Linked DNA regions of Homo sapiens: regions 1 and 3 are each linked to region 2. Evidence: promoter capture Hi-C in 16 types of primary human blood cells and fetal thymus (Javierre and others, 2016). All regions are on one chromosome and are shown on one strand. Each heading gives the region's core, a stretch centred on a gene start or on the middle of the fragment in contact. The rest is flanking DNA. Distances are from core to core; before and after follow the strand shown.

Region 1 (4,577 bases), core at 1,035-3,534, 1.5 Mb before region 2:
AGGGGTTTTGCATGTTTTTTTTTCTTTTAAGATAATCTGTATTTCCAATTAGATGTTATGAACATTGGTGATTAGGAATATTGCTTTCTGTTGTCAAATAGAAATCAGTAAAGTGTTACAATCTAAGTACAAGTTAGGATGGTTGGTACATGATTTCAGCATTTGGAAGTGTGCTCAGGTAAAATTCAAATCAAACTTCTTCCTCGTTCTTGAATGCTTATCTTCCATATTGAATTCAGCCACGTTTGAAGACACAATTATCTGGACATTTCACAGTCAGCTAATATAATGGTTTTTAAATGAATTAAACATTCATTAATGTATGAATTTATATTTATTTTGCCATTCTGTATTGCAGCTGCTAAATTAATATAGCATACTTGAGATTACATTAGTAACAGATAATTAATTTTTAATTTTTATATTTTATTTCAAGGAAACTCAAGCATAACTAACATTTAAACTGCCACCCCACTGTCCTTATTGAATTGTTACTCCATCCTGTAGAATAGGAGGGCAGTGACAGATCCCATAAAGTTAAAGGGATGGGGTGGAATTGACCAATGTGGGCAAATAGCCCCTCCTCTCCCATCATATAAAGGGAACAAGAATAAGATCTGTTATTATTATTGTTGCTGAAAATGCACTATATTTTCGTCATATCACAGAGTTGAGTTCAGTATCTCCAGGAGGAAAGTGACAACTTTCCTTCTCCTGATCTAGTGCTTTAAAGATGCCAAGGACAATGCAGGAGAGCTCATGCAACGGAAGGAGCCTCAGTGGGCAGCTACTTTAATCTTCCAGTTTCCCTAATTGACGAATTGAGGCCCAGAGAGTGAGAGTGAGTTTCCCAGGGTTTCAGAGTGAAGCAGTCAGAGCCCATTTCCAGTTGAAGAGACCTGAGAGGGTCCATGGGGCTGAAGGGAGGAGAGGAAAGGGGTCCAGAGAGCGCTGGCAGATCTGGAAAGCCAGAGTGGGTCTGAATGTGTCCTTGGAGCCAAGAAGAGGGGCCACAGCAAGTAGGAAGGGCTGGAGCCAGGGATTGGGAGAGGCAATGAGAGGTGGAGAAAGAGGGTACCCGGGAAAGTTGGAGGAGTCAAGGCTCAAAACCAGCTCTTGTTAGTGTCGAGACAGTTGTCAAGTGTCCTTGAGGGTGGTGCCTTTGAGGGCAGGCTTCAAGACGTGTTAGATGTGAGGCACATGGAGGCCAGATGGCCTGACAGCCCAGCACTGCATCCCATGATCATATCATCCCTGACCTAACCTTGCAGGAATGCTGGGCTTGGTCACTGTCGACTCCACGTTGTCATTTTACATTGAGGAAGCAAGGGGCTGACACAGCCCACAGCTTGCCTGATGCCATACATTACATCAGCTTTTTCAGGGTGCATTCTCTGCTCTTTTAGGTTTGAACAACATAACTTATAAACACATTATTGTGTCTTCCCGAGACCAGAGGATATGTTTATGCTTAAAGATAAGTGCTGTGATATATAACAGCACATTATTACCTTCATTTCAAATTTTAATAAGAGATTACTTAAGTGACACATTTTATATTTCCTACAATAAAGATACCTGTCTTTGAAATTAGTAAAATAAGATTAATGAGAAAAGAAAAACAAATAAGGCATCAAGGTGGGTTGCTTCTGGAAAGCATGACTTTGGATATATTGTGTCTACTCTGCATTTTATGTGGTTGAAAACTGTTTTAGTAATTAATAAATTTTATATTTTAGAGTAGTTTTAGATTCGCAGCAACCTTGAATGGAAGGTGCAGGGATTTCCCATATACTCCCTTCCCCACCATAGCCTCCCTCATTATCAGAGTGGCACATTTGTTACAATTGATGAACCCACACTGACACAGCATCATTCCGAGTCCACAGTTCACATTGGGCTTCACTCTTGGTGTTGTCATTCTATGGGTTAGGACAAGCATATAATGACATACATCCAGTGTTACAGTATCACACACAGGGTTTTACTGCCTGAAAAATCCTCTGTGCTCTGCCCATTCATCTCTCCCACCCCTCTAGCCCCTAGCAACCACGGATCTTTTTACTGTCTCCATAGTTTTTGTCTTTTCCAGCACGTCATTGAGTTGAAATCATACAATATGTAGCCTTTTCAGATGGGCTTCTTTCACTTAGTAATATGCTGGAACTGTTTTTTCCCTTCCTTCCTTCCTTCCTTCCTTCCTTCCTTTTTTCAGACAGAGTCTCGCTCTGTCGCCCAGGCTGGAGTGCAGTGGTGCGACCTCAGCTCATTGCAACCTCTACCTCCTGGGTTCAAGCAATTCTCATGCCTCAGCCTCCTGAGTAGCTGGGATTACAGGTGCCCGCCACCATGCCCGGTTAATTTTTGTATTTTTAGTAGAGACGGGGTTTTACCACATTGGCCAGGATGGTCTCGATCTCCTGACCTCGTGATCTGCCCAACACGGCCTCCCAAAGTGCTGGGATTACAGGCGTGAGCCACCGTGCCTGGCTCAGAACTTTTTATAAAGGACTTTTGAGAAACAATTTATTATTCATAATTTAAGAGTCAGGATAACATTTTTTTTTCTAATTAAAAAAAGATTTTATTTCTTATAAAAATGTATTTTATTTTCTGTCATGACCAAGCATCTAGGAGGTACAAAGCCCTGTGCTAGGTGCCACAATGACAGGAAGGCAGTGATAAGAAAATTTGCCCGTGGCAGGTCTTGTGCAGATGGATTTATCGTGCGGTGGGAGGTGAGCACACAGGCATCTGCGCAGCAGGGAGGGGAGGGGCTTTGCTCAGCCTGGGAAAGGTGGGTGTCTGGAGGCAGAACTCTAAAAGATACGTAGGTTCAGGAAGGGAGAGTGATGCCTTGTATCTGATGGCCTTGAGGAGACAGGAGGGACATAGGGCATGACTGCAGAGAGGTGGAGGCACCTGAGGCTGCGGAAAGACATTGGATGCAACATGGAGCCTTTGCACAGATTCCTGTAATGGGGGATCTCCTTTGGGGAAGAGCCTTGTGGATCAGAGCGTAAGGCAGATTGGAAGGGTGAGGTGGGAGTGGGACTGTTAAGAGCACAGCAGTTTCCTGGGCGTGATCTATGGGTGCTGGACAGACGCACAGATGGAGAGACATTGGGAGGTCATGCTGAGCAGATGGGGAGGTTGGTTGGCTGTGAGGACCAGGGGGAGGAGAGTCATGACTGGCTTCCAGGAAGTGACTTGTGAGGCATGGGGCATGGAGAAGACCACACATAGACAGTGTGTAATTCATCCTTCAAACTGGGGCACTTTTGAGAATGACAGAGGGCACTGTTCATAACCATGCAAGAATAGGTGAAAAGCAAGTCTGTCCTGGGCAAACTGGGGTGAATGGGTACCCCACTTGTAGGGGATACAGGGAAAGGAGCCAGTTTGAGGAGGTAGAGATAATTAATATTTACAAAATCAATTAGGCCCAGAAAAGCAAAATCTTTATTTTATTACATTTGGAACTCAAAAGGCACAGCTTTACCCTCATCATCTGAATGTTCATCTTGATGATTTAAGAAATGTTTAGGAATTTGTATCACTTTGAATCTTTAAAAAGTGATTTTGTGAGAGTGGCTAGTTCAGGAGAGGACTGTCTATTAATTATTTCTCTGTGTGTTTCCTCTGGCAGAAAACCCTTCCTGGACCAAGGACATTTTGTGTGCTACTCTGAGTTGCAAGCAAAATGGGATAAGGCATCTCATTTTATCTGCTATACAAGGGGTCACTTTGGCGCAGGACCACTTCCAGGTTTGTCGTCTTTAATATTTCAGAGAATTTCATGTTCATGACTATTGGCCCTTGCAAGGCAGTCCAGTTATTCAAACTTGCTGCTTCGTTCTTATAACTACAGCAATGGTGTCATACACAGTCTTGTTGCAAGCTGGGCTTGCAGAATGACTGCTCACCCTTCCTCCCTCTTGGCCTCTCCCAGTGGTGTGCTGGGTTGAGTGGCACTGAGTTGAGAGATCGGATTGTTAAATTTTCAGGAATTTTGCAAGCTGGTTGTTAAACATAGATGTCATCATTATAAATAAATTATATAAACTTATGATGAAATAAATCATGTTAGAAACACAAGTAATAATTACTCAAGATTCATCACTTCCTAATTATTTTAGTATGTTTTACTGTTATCTCTCTTCCTGAGATGATTTGCTTTTGTTGTATCCACATGATGGAAATACTATGTAGTCTTGTGCTAAGTGCAGTTCTTCCCTTCTCTACGTTTAATGACGTTATGGTGGCAGCATGAACTGGGCCATGCAGGAGCTTTTGCACCATGGAAATTGGCAAGTGCTCCAAATCAGAATTTTTTTTTTCTGGAGAGTTAGTTTTTAAATATTTACCAGCCCAACACTGGCTCTAACTCATTGAATACACTGGCTAGTACCAAAAATTGATGGCTGAATGGGAACCAGCATAGCAATTTCCTTTTTATTAAATTGGACACATGCCCAATAGGCTCCCATGCAGGGTCTCCAACTATAGCTGAATCAGACAATGTGTCTCTTATTTGGGCCCCACTCCTTTGTCCTAGAATTAAAGACCCCTGGGCC
Region 2 (3,981 bases), core at 672-3,171:
TGATTTTATAGAACCGAGGGCCCATTTTGCACATTACATATGATCACACCTCGAGCCGTGTTTTTATTTTGGTGGTGTTGTGAAAGGTGTGATATTTGGATTAGAGCATCATAAAGACACAGAAGCCATAACTGATTAGAGCATGTGATGAGAGGCAGGTGGGTGGGTAGGCAGCTGCAGCCACAGCAAATGTGGCCTGTCTCTTTTCTGAGGGTAACAAGAAACGAAAGGGCCGAGTGTGGTGGCTCACACCTGTAATCCCAGCACTTTGAGAGGCCGGGTGGATCATTTGAGGCCAGGAGTTCAAGACAAGCCTGGGCAACAAAGCAAGATCCCATCTCTACCAAAAAAAAAAAACAAAAAAAAAACAAAAGAAAAAACCTAAACGAAACAAAACAAAACAAACAAACAAAAAATTAGCCCTGTGTGGTGACCTGTACACCCAGCTCCTCCGGAGTCTGAGGCAGGAGTTTGAGGCTGCAGTGGGCCGTGATCATGCCACTGCACTGAAGCCTGGGTGACAAAGTGAGATCGTGTCTCTAAAACATTAAAAAAAAAAAAAAAAGGAAAAATGAGAGTGAGAACTGAAACAGCAGAAGGGCTCAAATCATCCTGTACATAGAAATCCTCCATCCAGGCCAGGCGCGGTGGCTCACCAGCATTTTGGGAGACCGAGGCAGGAGGATCACGAGGTCCGGAGATCGAGACCATCATGTCCAACATGGTGAAACCCCGTCTCACTAAAAATACAAAAACAAAATTAGCTGGGGGTGATGGCGGACGACTGTAGTCCCAGCTACTCAGGAGGCTGAGGCGGCAGAAAGGCATGAACCCGGGAATCGAGCTTGCAGTAAGTGGAGATCGCGCCACTGCGCTCCAGGCTAGGCCACAGAGCGAGACTCCGTCTGAAAAAAAAAAAAAAGAGAGAGAGAGAGAGAAAGAAATCCTCCATCCAGCCCTGTTGGTTGTGTATGTGTTGGAGGGGGTGGAGGGGCAGCCTTCTCAGGCTTTCAAGGAGGGCTCCCTAGCACCTCAGCTAAGATTTGTTTGTCTATACTATTAAAAGATAGACATAACTGTGTCCCAAACCAGCCTCCCCAGTTCCCACCAGCCAGAGCGCCTGACCTTGCAGGGAAGCTTATCTGTTTACCGTCCGAGCACTTTCAGGGATTCTAAAATGCCGTGAGTGGGAACCACTGCCATGGGCCATTTCCATGAAAATTCAATTTCGGGGATTAATTTGAACAGGTACTATTGACGTTTTCTCGTTTACACAAGATCAAAGAGTAAAAACAACCGGGCCTCTGCTTAACAGTTGAGGATTCTAGCAAAGTTAGGAAACAGGTTTCTATTTGTAGTAGAAGAGAGAGCAGGCAGAAAGAGGAAGATGGGAGCGGGGAGAGATTGGCAGAGATTCAGAAAGTTCGCGCTTGAGATTTTTACGTTTCTTACTCGTAAACGTCTATTTCTCTGGGTTTCTGAATGCAAAGACGAGAAAGTCTCAACAGTCTGCTAAACTAACACGGCCTTCGAATCCCAATCTGAACACAGTAGCTGAAACAAGCTGTCCACAAAGAGGAAAGCCAGAGGGGGCCAATTAGGAAGGAAGAAATTAAAGAAAAGAGAAAAGCCAAGATGAAAGGTCCAGCGCAAAGTGAATGACTCGACTGGAGAATGGCAGCCCTGGCAGGGTCTGCGGCCGGCTGCGGAGGTGGGGACGCGGCCGCGCGGACGAGTGACAGGTTGGTCCGGCGCAGCAAAGGGAGCGGGTGCGGCGGTAGGGCCTCTCCGGGGGCAGCGCGAGGGCCTCCCCCGGGGCAGCGCGGGCCAAGGCGGGGCCTCCAGAGCGGGGGCAGCAGAGGAGGGAGCGGAACGGGAGCCGGGCGGAGGCGGCTGCGGCAGGGGGAGGCGGGAGGCGGGCGCGCTAGCTCCCATGCTGGCCTCGGTGCCACTCGCGCGCCGGCCGCGCTCCGGGCTTCTCTTTTCCCTCCGACGCGCCACGGCTGCCCAGACATTCCGGCTGCCGGGTCTGGAGAGCTCCCCGAACCCCTCCGCGGAGAGGAGCGAGGCGGCGCCAGGGTGGCCCCCGGGGCGCGCTTGGTCTCGGAGAAGCGGGGACGAGGCCGGAGGATGAGCGACTGAGGGCGACGCGGGCACTGACGCGAGTTGGGGCCGCGACTACCGGCAGCTGACAGCGCGATGAGCGACTCCCCAGAGACGCCCTAGCCCGGTGTGCGCGCCAGGCGGAGCGCGCAGGTGGGGCTGGGCTGTTAGTGGTCCGCCCCACGCGGGTCGCCGGCCGGCCCAGGATGGGCGCTGGCAACCCGGGCCCGCGCCCGCCGCTGCTACCCCTGCGCCCGCTGCGAGCCCGGCGTCCGGCCCGCGCCCTGCGCTCATGTATGTAGGTTTGGCGCCGGTCTTCAGGGCTGAGGGTGCATGCTGGGTGTCCCCGCGCGGCCGGACGCGCTCCAGCTGGGTTCAGCCGCTCAGCTGCTCCGGAGGAACCCCCTCCCCCGCCCAAGTTTGTGAATATGGGCGCTTCGCCCAGTGTTGAGGTCGGCAGGGACCGGGCAGGGGGTCAGCAGGGCCGGGCACGTCCGGAGCCCTCAGGGAGGAGGGCTGAGGGGGAGGGGACAGACGCACCGGAGTGCGCAGAGTGGGGGCGTTCGGGGAGTGAGGCGGAGAGAGGCTGGATTGCCGGTGTCCTGCGGCGTCTCGGGCTCTCCCAGCCCCTTTGGGCGGCAGAAACTTTGGAATCCAGAAAGGCTGGCCGGGATCCAGCGAGTAGGAGGGTCTCGCGCCCACTCTGCGCCCTGGGGCCCCAGCCTCCCGCACTGCACACCTTGGTGCTGCCCGGGCGCTTCTGCTCCGCAGCCAGGACACTACAAGACTGAGCGCTGCGGCCGGCGACCTGGCTCCCAAGGCTCGGAGGGGCGGGCCGGCAGAGGAGCTGAAGCCCCGGGAATCCCCGACCCGGCCCTCTGGCAAGGGGCCGAGGGCATCCTTTCATGCAGCGGGGCTTAGAGAGCGGGGAGGGGGCGTCTGCTCCCGAGACGGGAGTCTTTTAAGAAGTTGTTAGAAATGAATCGTGGAGTCCTAGGAGAAGCTTTGTTTAACCTCCCCGCATTTTCCCAGCACAACCCCCTAAAGCAAATGAGGAAGAGTTTCCCTCTTATCTTCCTGTACATTCGTCCGTCTCTAACTCCACTGCTGAATTCTCCATTTAATAACCTTCGGGAAATGTGGCCAGGACCTAGGGAGGGACACCCTGGGTGCCTGAATTACGTGGTTCAAGGCAGAGCTTTGCAGGGGGGCGCGGGCCTGGCTCGCTGCGTTCCCTGGGCTCCGCAAGCCGCCCTTGGCCATCTCCAACACTAATCACGACTACATCAGAAACACGCCGGCCGGTGTCGTTCTTGGATTTCGCTTCCAATGTATCGCTCCACAGTTTGTGATGTCTAAGAACCCCGGCCGTGCACCGACGCTGGGCATGCTGCCCCCGCCCCCGTCGCCCAGCTCGTTAATCTAGAGCTATGCCGGAGCCCGGGTGGGGGCCGCGGCGGGCCGGGGCGCGCGCGGGCCGCGGGGCTCAGTTGTGCTGCTGTTCTCTCCGCAGGGACGGCGGCTCCCGGCTGGCGGCGGCGCGCCCCCGGGCTGTGAATGCGACTCGCCCCTCGGCCGCGCTCCCCGCCCGCCCGCCCGCCGGGACGTGGTAGGGGATGCCCAGCTCCACTGCGATGGCAGTTGGCGCGCTCTCCAGTTCCCTCCTGGTCACCTGCTGCCTGATGGTGGCTCTGTGCAGTCCGAGCATCCCGCTGGAGAAGCTGGCCCAGGCACCAGAGCAGCCGGGCCAGGAGAAGCGTGAGCACGCCTCTCGGGACGGCCCGGGGCGGGTGAACGAGCTCGGGCGCCCGGCGAGGGACGAGGGCGGCAGCGGCCGGGACTGGAAGAGCAAGAGCGGCCGTGGGCTCGCCGGCCGTG
Region 3 (4,565 bases), core at 786-3,285, 1.5 Mb before region 2:
AAATTAAGACACAAACACACAGTCTAGTCTAGGCCTACATGAGGTCAGGATCATGAATACCACTGTCTTCCACTTCCACAGCTTGTCCCACTGGGCGGTCTTCAGGGGCAATAACATGCGTAGAGCTGTCGTCTCCTGTGATAACAATGCCTTCTTCTGGATACCTCCTGAGGGACTTGCCTGTGGCTGTTTTACAGTTAAATTTTTTTTAATAACTAGAAAGAGTATACTCTAAAATAATGATAATATAGTATAGTTAGTACATAAACCAGTAATATAGTCATTTATTATCCTTGTCACTATTATGTACTGTACATAATTGTGTGTGTGATACTTTTGCTATGAATGGGAGTGCAGCAGTTTTGTTTACACCGGCACTGCCACAAACACTTGAATAATACGCCAGGCTACAACACTACAATGGCTGATGTCACTAGAAGATAGGAATTTTTTCATCTCCATTATAATCATATTTTTCATCTCCATTATAATCTTATGGGACTACCACCGTATATGTGGTTTGTCATCATGTACCAGATAGCGATATTTTGGTCAACAATGGACCCCATATAGGATGGTGGTCCCATGAGATTATACTACTGTATTTTTACTGTACCTTTTTACTGTACCTTTTCTATGTTTAGATATGTTCAGCCACACAAATACTTACCACTGTGTGACAACTGCCTACAGGATTCAGTACAGTGACACGCTGTACAGGTTTGTAGTCTAGGAGCAATAGACCATACCCTATAGCCAAGGTATGTAGGAGGCTGTATCATCTAGGATGCTGTAAGTGCACACTATGATGTTCACACAATTAAACAATTACCCAATGGTGCATTTCCCAAATGTATCCTTGTCATTATGAGACACATGACTGCACACACACACACACACACACACACACACACATTCTCTTGGTTCTGTTTCTCTGGAGGACCCTGACTACTACACCATTATTTATATCTTACTGTATTTTGGGAACATTTTATGGCATCTGTTGAGTTCTCCGTGCTCTTCTTCAGAGAGCATGGTTCCTATTCACATAGGTTCATGCACTTCGGCCTCAGTTGGCCTGAATGTTTCACAGCAATCATACCCATCAGGAGCAAAAACATGGAGCAGGAAGTATGGTTTTTGTTTTATTTTGCTTTGTAATTTGGCATATCACAAATGTCCTTAACTGAAAAGCATACCCAAATGAAGAGGTGTGTCAAAGCCTTTAATTGCGATGCATGATAGTAATAAACTAGAGACTAATATAAGTTGTCCTCAGTGCCTCCTTCTGAGTGTACTTGCTTTAAAAAAATATATAACAAGCTTGGTAATCCTGTTTTCAATCTAAAAATGAAGGAGCAAAAAATATCAGCTTCACACTGATGACGGTGAAAAGTGGAAGCTGATAAACTGAAAGCCAAGGGTAAGACTTAATATCAGACAAACGAGACACAGATGCTAACTACGGGGGTGGCATCGGAGGGTGGGGGCTTGGTGGGCATTCAGAGTGAGCCTCGTGGAGAGCAGAGGGACAGAGTTTCAGAAGGGTGATCCAAAGACCTCAAGCGAGGGCAAATTTTATAAGAAGTCAGAGAATGATGTGCGCACTTCAGAAACATTTCCATCAAAATGTTGAGAATCGAACCCCAGTTTGGGCTCCCCGCATCTGCAGGTCAGTCCCGGGAGTTGGGAAATCCACTCTTGGGCGACTCCCTGCCGATGAAGCTCCGGTCTGAGGTGGTGAAGCACATGACGTCATAGGTATACTCACCTCTAATCTCTGTGCTTTGAAACAGGTTCTCTTCAGTGCCCTCACCGTAGCTCTGTCTGGAAAGTGTGATCAGGAAATCCTTCATCTCCTGCTGACATTTCCCAAAGGGGAAAAATCTTGGATCGCAGCGGAGGAACTCTGTAGCCTGCCAGGGTCAAAAGTGTATTCTCTGATTGTGTTGCTGAGTCGAAACTTGGATGTGCGAGCTTTCATTTACAAGGTATGGAGAGCATGCTGGCTGGGGGCAGTCCTCTGCAGGACTCTGCTGTGGTGGCTGCAGATAAGTACAGTAGTCCTAGGGGTGCGGCAGTGGGAGATCAGCACCTGGCCACTCTGCAGTGGTCTCCACCAGCCTCTGGTGTCACCTGTTTGCTGAATCCAAGGTGGGGCTCAAGAAGACTTTGTTGTAATAAAGGGATGTTCAGGAGACCCTTCAGGGGGTCCTTGGAAATAAGTGTCAGGGCATTGGGACAGAGTTGGTGGTGATCTCCATGCTCATTGTGGAAGGACCCACTGCAAAAACACAGCACCGCTTCCTAATGCCAGGTGTTCTCTCCTCTGTAAGGGCCACCTCCCTGGAGCATGTTTGAGGAGGCTGGGATTGTGCATGGTCCACTCCTGAGCGGCCCGAGTTAGGTGCTGCTCCCTGCACGGTGGCCCTATCTGTCAGCGGGAAGCATCCAGCTCTGCCAGGGCCTGCCCTGGAGAGAATGTGGAGGGGTGGGCAGCACAGGAAGCCCAATCCCCTGTGTGTGCCGGCTCTGACAAGCATGATCCTCTGACAAGCAGCAGTGTGAGGGCAGGGAGGGACTGGAGGAAGCTAAAGATGATGAAGTCTGCAGGAGAGAGTGGAGAGTGGGAAGTGAGGAGGAGCTGGGGCAAGCCCAGGCCCAGCACTTTCCGGACGGGCCCAGAACCCATGTAGGGGCAACCTAGCTCCAAACCACAGCTCACTGCTCTCAAGCTGCCCCTTCCAGAAGCTTCTCCTCCTTCTGGCCTCTACTGTTTGAATCTTTACTTAAGTTTCCAGAAGCTTCCCCTCCTTCTGGCCTCTACTGTTTGAATCTTTACTTAAGTTTCCAGAAGCTTCCCCTCTTACCCTTAGGCACTGATCTTGCTCCAAGTACCATTGTTTTCCCTTTAGGGAAGTATTTCACAACCTCTGGGTTCATTAGAGAGGCTGCAGGGTTTGTACTATGGTAAGGTGGCTGTAGGCACCCTGAGTTTGGGTGAACAGTTTTATAGTCAGCAAAGGGTAGATTTGCCATTTCAGCCACGCATGATTTCCTTAGTTTCTATTACTTCAAGAGTCCAGGGAGTAAATGTTGGAATGAACACACACACACCCACACACACACACTCCAAGAACAAATATTTGTTTTCAGAATGATTACATTTTAAACCCATAAGGAGGAGAATAAACATTTCTTGCATCCCCATAATTTGCAAACCCACCTCTATCTTGGTGGAATTCGTATTTTTCGCTAACATGCTTATGGTTTAGCTCTGCATTTGCTCACCACAGCCTCTCTTCCAACTTTACAGTTTGCCTTTTGGGAAACAGAGCTCCCATTGGCACGATGCTACTTTAGTGGCCACTTTGTTATGTGCACAAAGGTCCCCGATTTGAAGTAAGTGCTTGTAGAGGCCCACATAATTACTGTGACAAGGGCCATCATCTGTACCAAGATTTCTTTGAAGGATAAGATAGTGGGTTGGATTCAGTCTCCCAGACACAATGAAAATGACATCATCATTAATAACAACAGCTCTTATTTATCAGGTACCTTCTATATGAAGGGCTCTATGAAAGTTGATTAAATACAAGATATGGCTCAGGATGTTAGGGCAGCCCGACCTCCATGTGAGGGCCACGTGCAGGTGCAGCTCATTCCCAAGTCCATGTACTTTCTGATTCACTCAGCTGACAATGAATTTCTGAAGCCTTCAGCAAAGCACAGTTTGCTATATTAATTCGGCACATCAATCTGGTCTCTTGGAGCTGCGCTGGATCCCTGTCACTCCCCACCATAAGTCAGGGGCCAGTCACTGTGTGCCACTTTTTTTTAAAGGGCAGCTGCAATTAGAAAGATGAGTAGAAGAAGTGACAAAAGCTACACACCATTTCTCCTGCTAGAGTTGTCTCTATAGTATGAATGGACAGAATTCTGTCATTATAAGCAGAGTGCCTCTGTGAAGGATGGAGCTGTGATCCCGGAGCCCTGAAAGTCATCTGCAGAGCTAACAGCTAAAACACTAATGAGCAAAAATAAGAAGCAGTGACAACTGGGTTCCTCTGCCCCAGCCTGGAAAACAGAAAATTCAATATCCAAATGACAGACAGTGGAAATTAGCTGTGATTTTCCCTGCTCTGTGCGAAGAGCTGGCATTTCCTCATTTATCCATTCATCCAACAAATATTTATTGAGCAACTAATATTTCCTGTTGCTATTTTATGCCCAGTAGCTACATGAAAGATCAAGACAGAAGAAAAGCCTTGCCTCCAGTGTAGAACTGAGAATATGAAAAAAAAAAATCATGTAAAATACAGAGCATTTCAGTTGGTGATAGCATAAGTAAGCTTCAGAGGGCACTGACATTTTTAAAGAATCCAGGTTAAATTCACATCCCTGAACCTTTCTAACTGTTAGACTTCAGGAAGACTTTTAATCTCCTCAAGCCCCAGTTTTCTCATCCACAAAACGAACAGTATAATGCACATCCCCAAGGTATTAGGAGGATTGAGATGATGTGTGAATGCTATGAATACTGTAAAGCAGTAGATAAATGTAAA

What was found. The method cuts DNA at HindIII sites, captures the fragments that hold promoters and counts their contacts. A CHiCAGO score of 5 or more calls a contact.
Region 1: a fragment that was not itself captured here is called in contact with the fragment with the promoter of VWC2 in region 2 in 1 of 17 cell types (M2 macrophages); the score reaches 7.3 in M2 macrophages.
Region 3: a contact is called between a fragment that was not itself captured here and the fragment with the promoter of VWC2 in region 2, in 1 of 17 cell types (M0 macrophages). The highest score is 5.3, in M0 macrophages.

The regions. Positions count from the first base shown.
Region 1 is chr7:48,284,311-48,288,887 of GRCh38, forward strand. ABCA13 (ATP binding cassette subfamily A member 13) reads left to right here. Exons shown (of 62, transcript NM_152701.5): 20 at 3,650-3,768. Among named protein-coding and RNA genes, the nearest start is that of ABCA13, 120 kb to the left of the region's middle. The HindIII fragment of the contact is 4,638 bases long and covers 1-4,577 here.
Region 2 is chr7:49,771,717-49,775,697 of GRCh38, forward strand. VWC2 (von Willebrand factor C domain containing 2) reads left to right here and starts at 1,922. Exons shown (of 4, transcript NM_198570.5): 1 at 1,922-2,397; 2 at 3,617-3,981. The coding sequence starts at 3,720. The HindIII fragment of the contact is 1,969 bases long and covers 1,136-3,104 here.
Region 3 is chr7:48,308,151-48,312,715 of GRCh38, forward strand. ABCA13 (ATP binding cassette subfamily A member 13) reads left to right here. Exons shown (of 62, transcript NM_152701.5): 24 at 1,797-1,991. Among named protein-coding and RNA genes, the nearest start is that of ABCA13, 140 kb to the left of the region's middle. The HindIII fragment of the contact is 1,428 bases long and covers 1,322-2,749 here.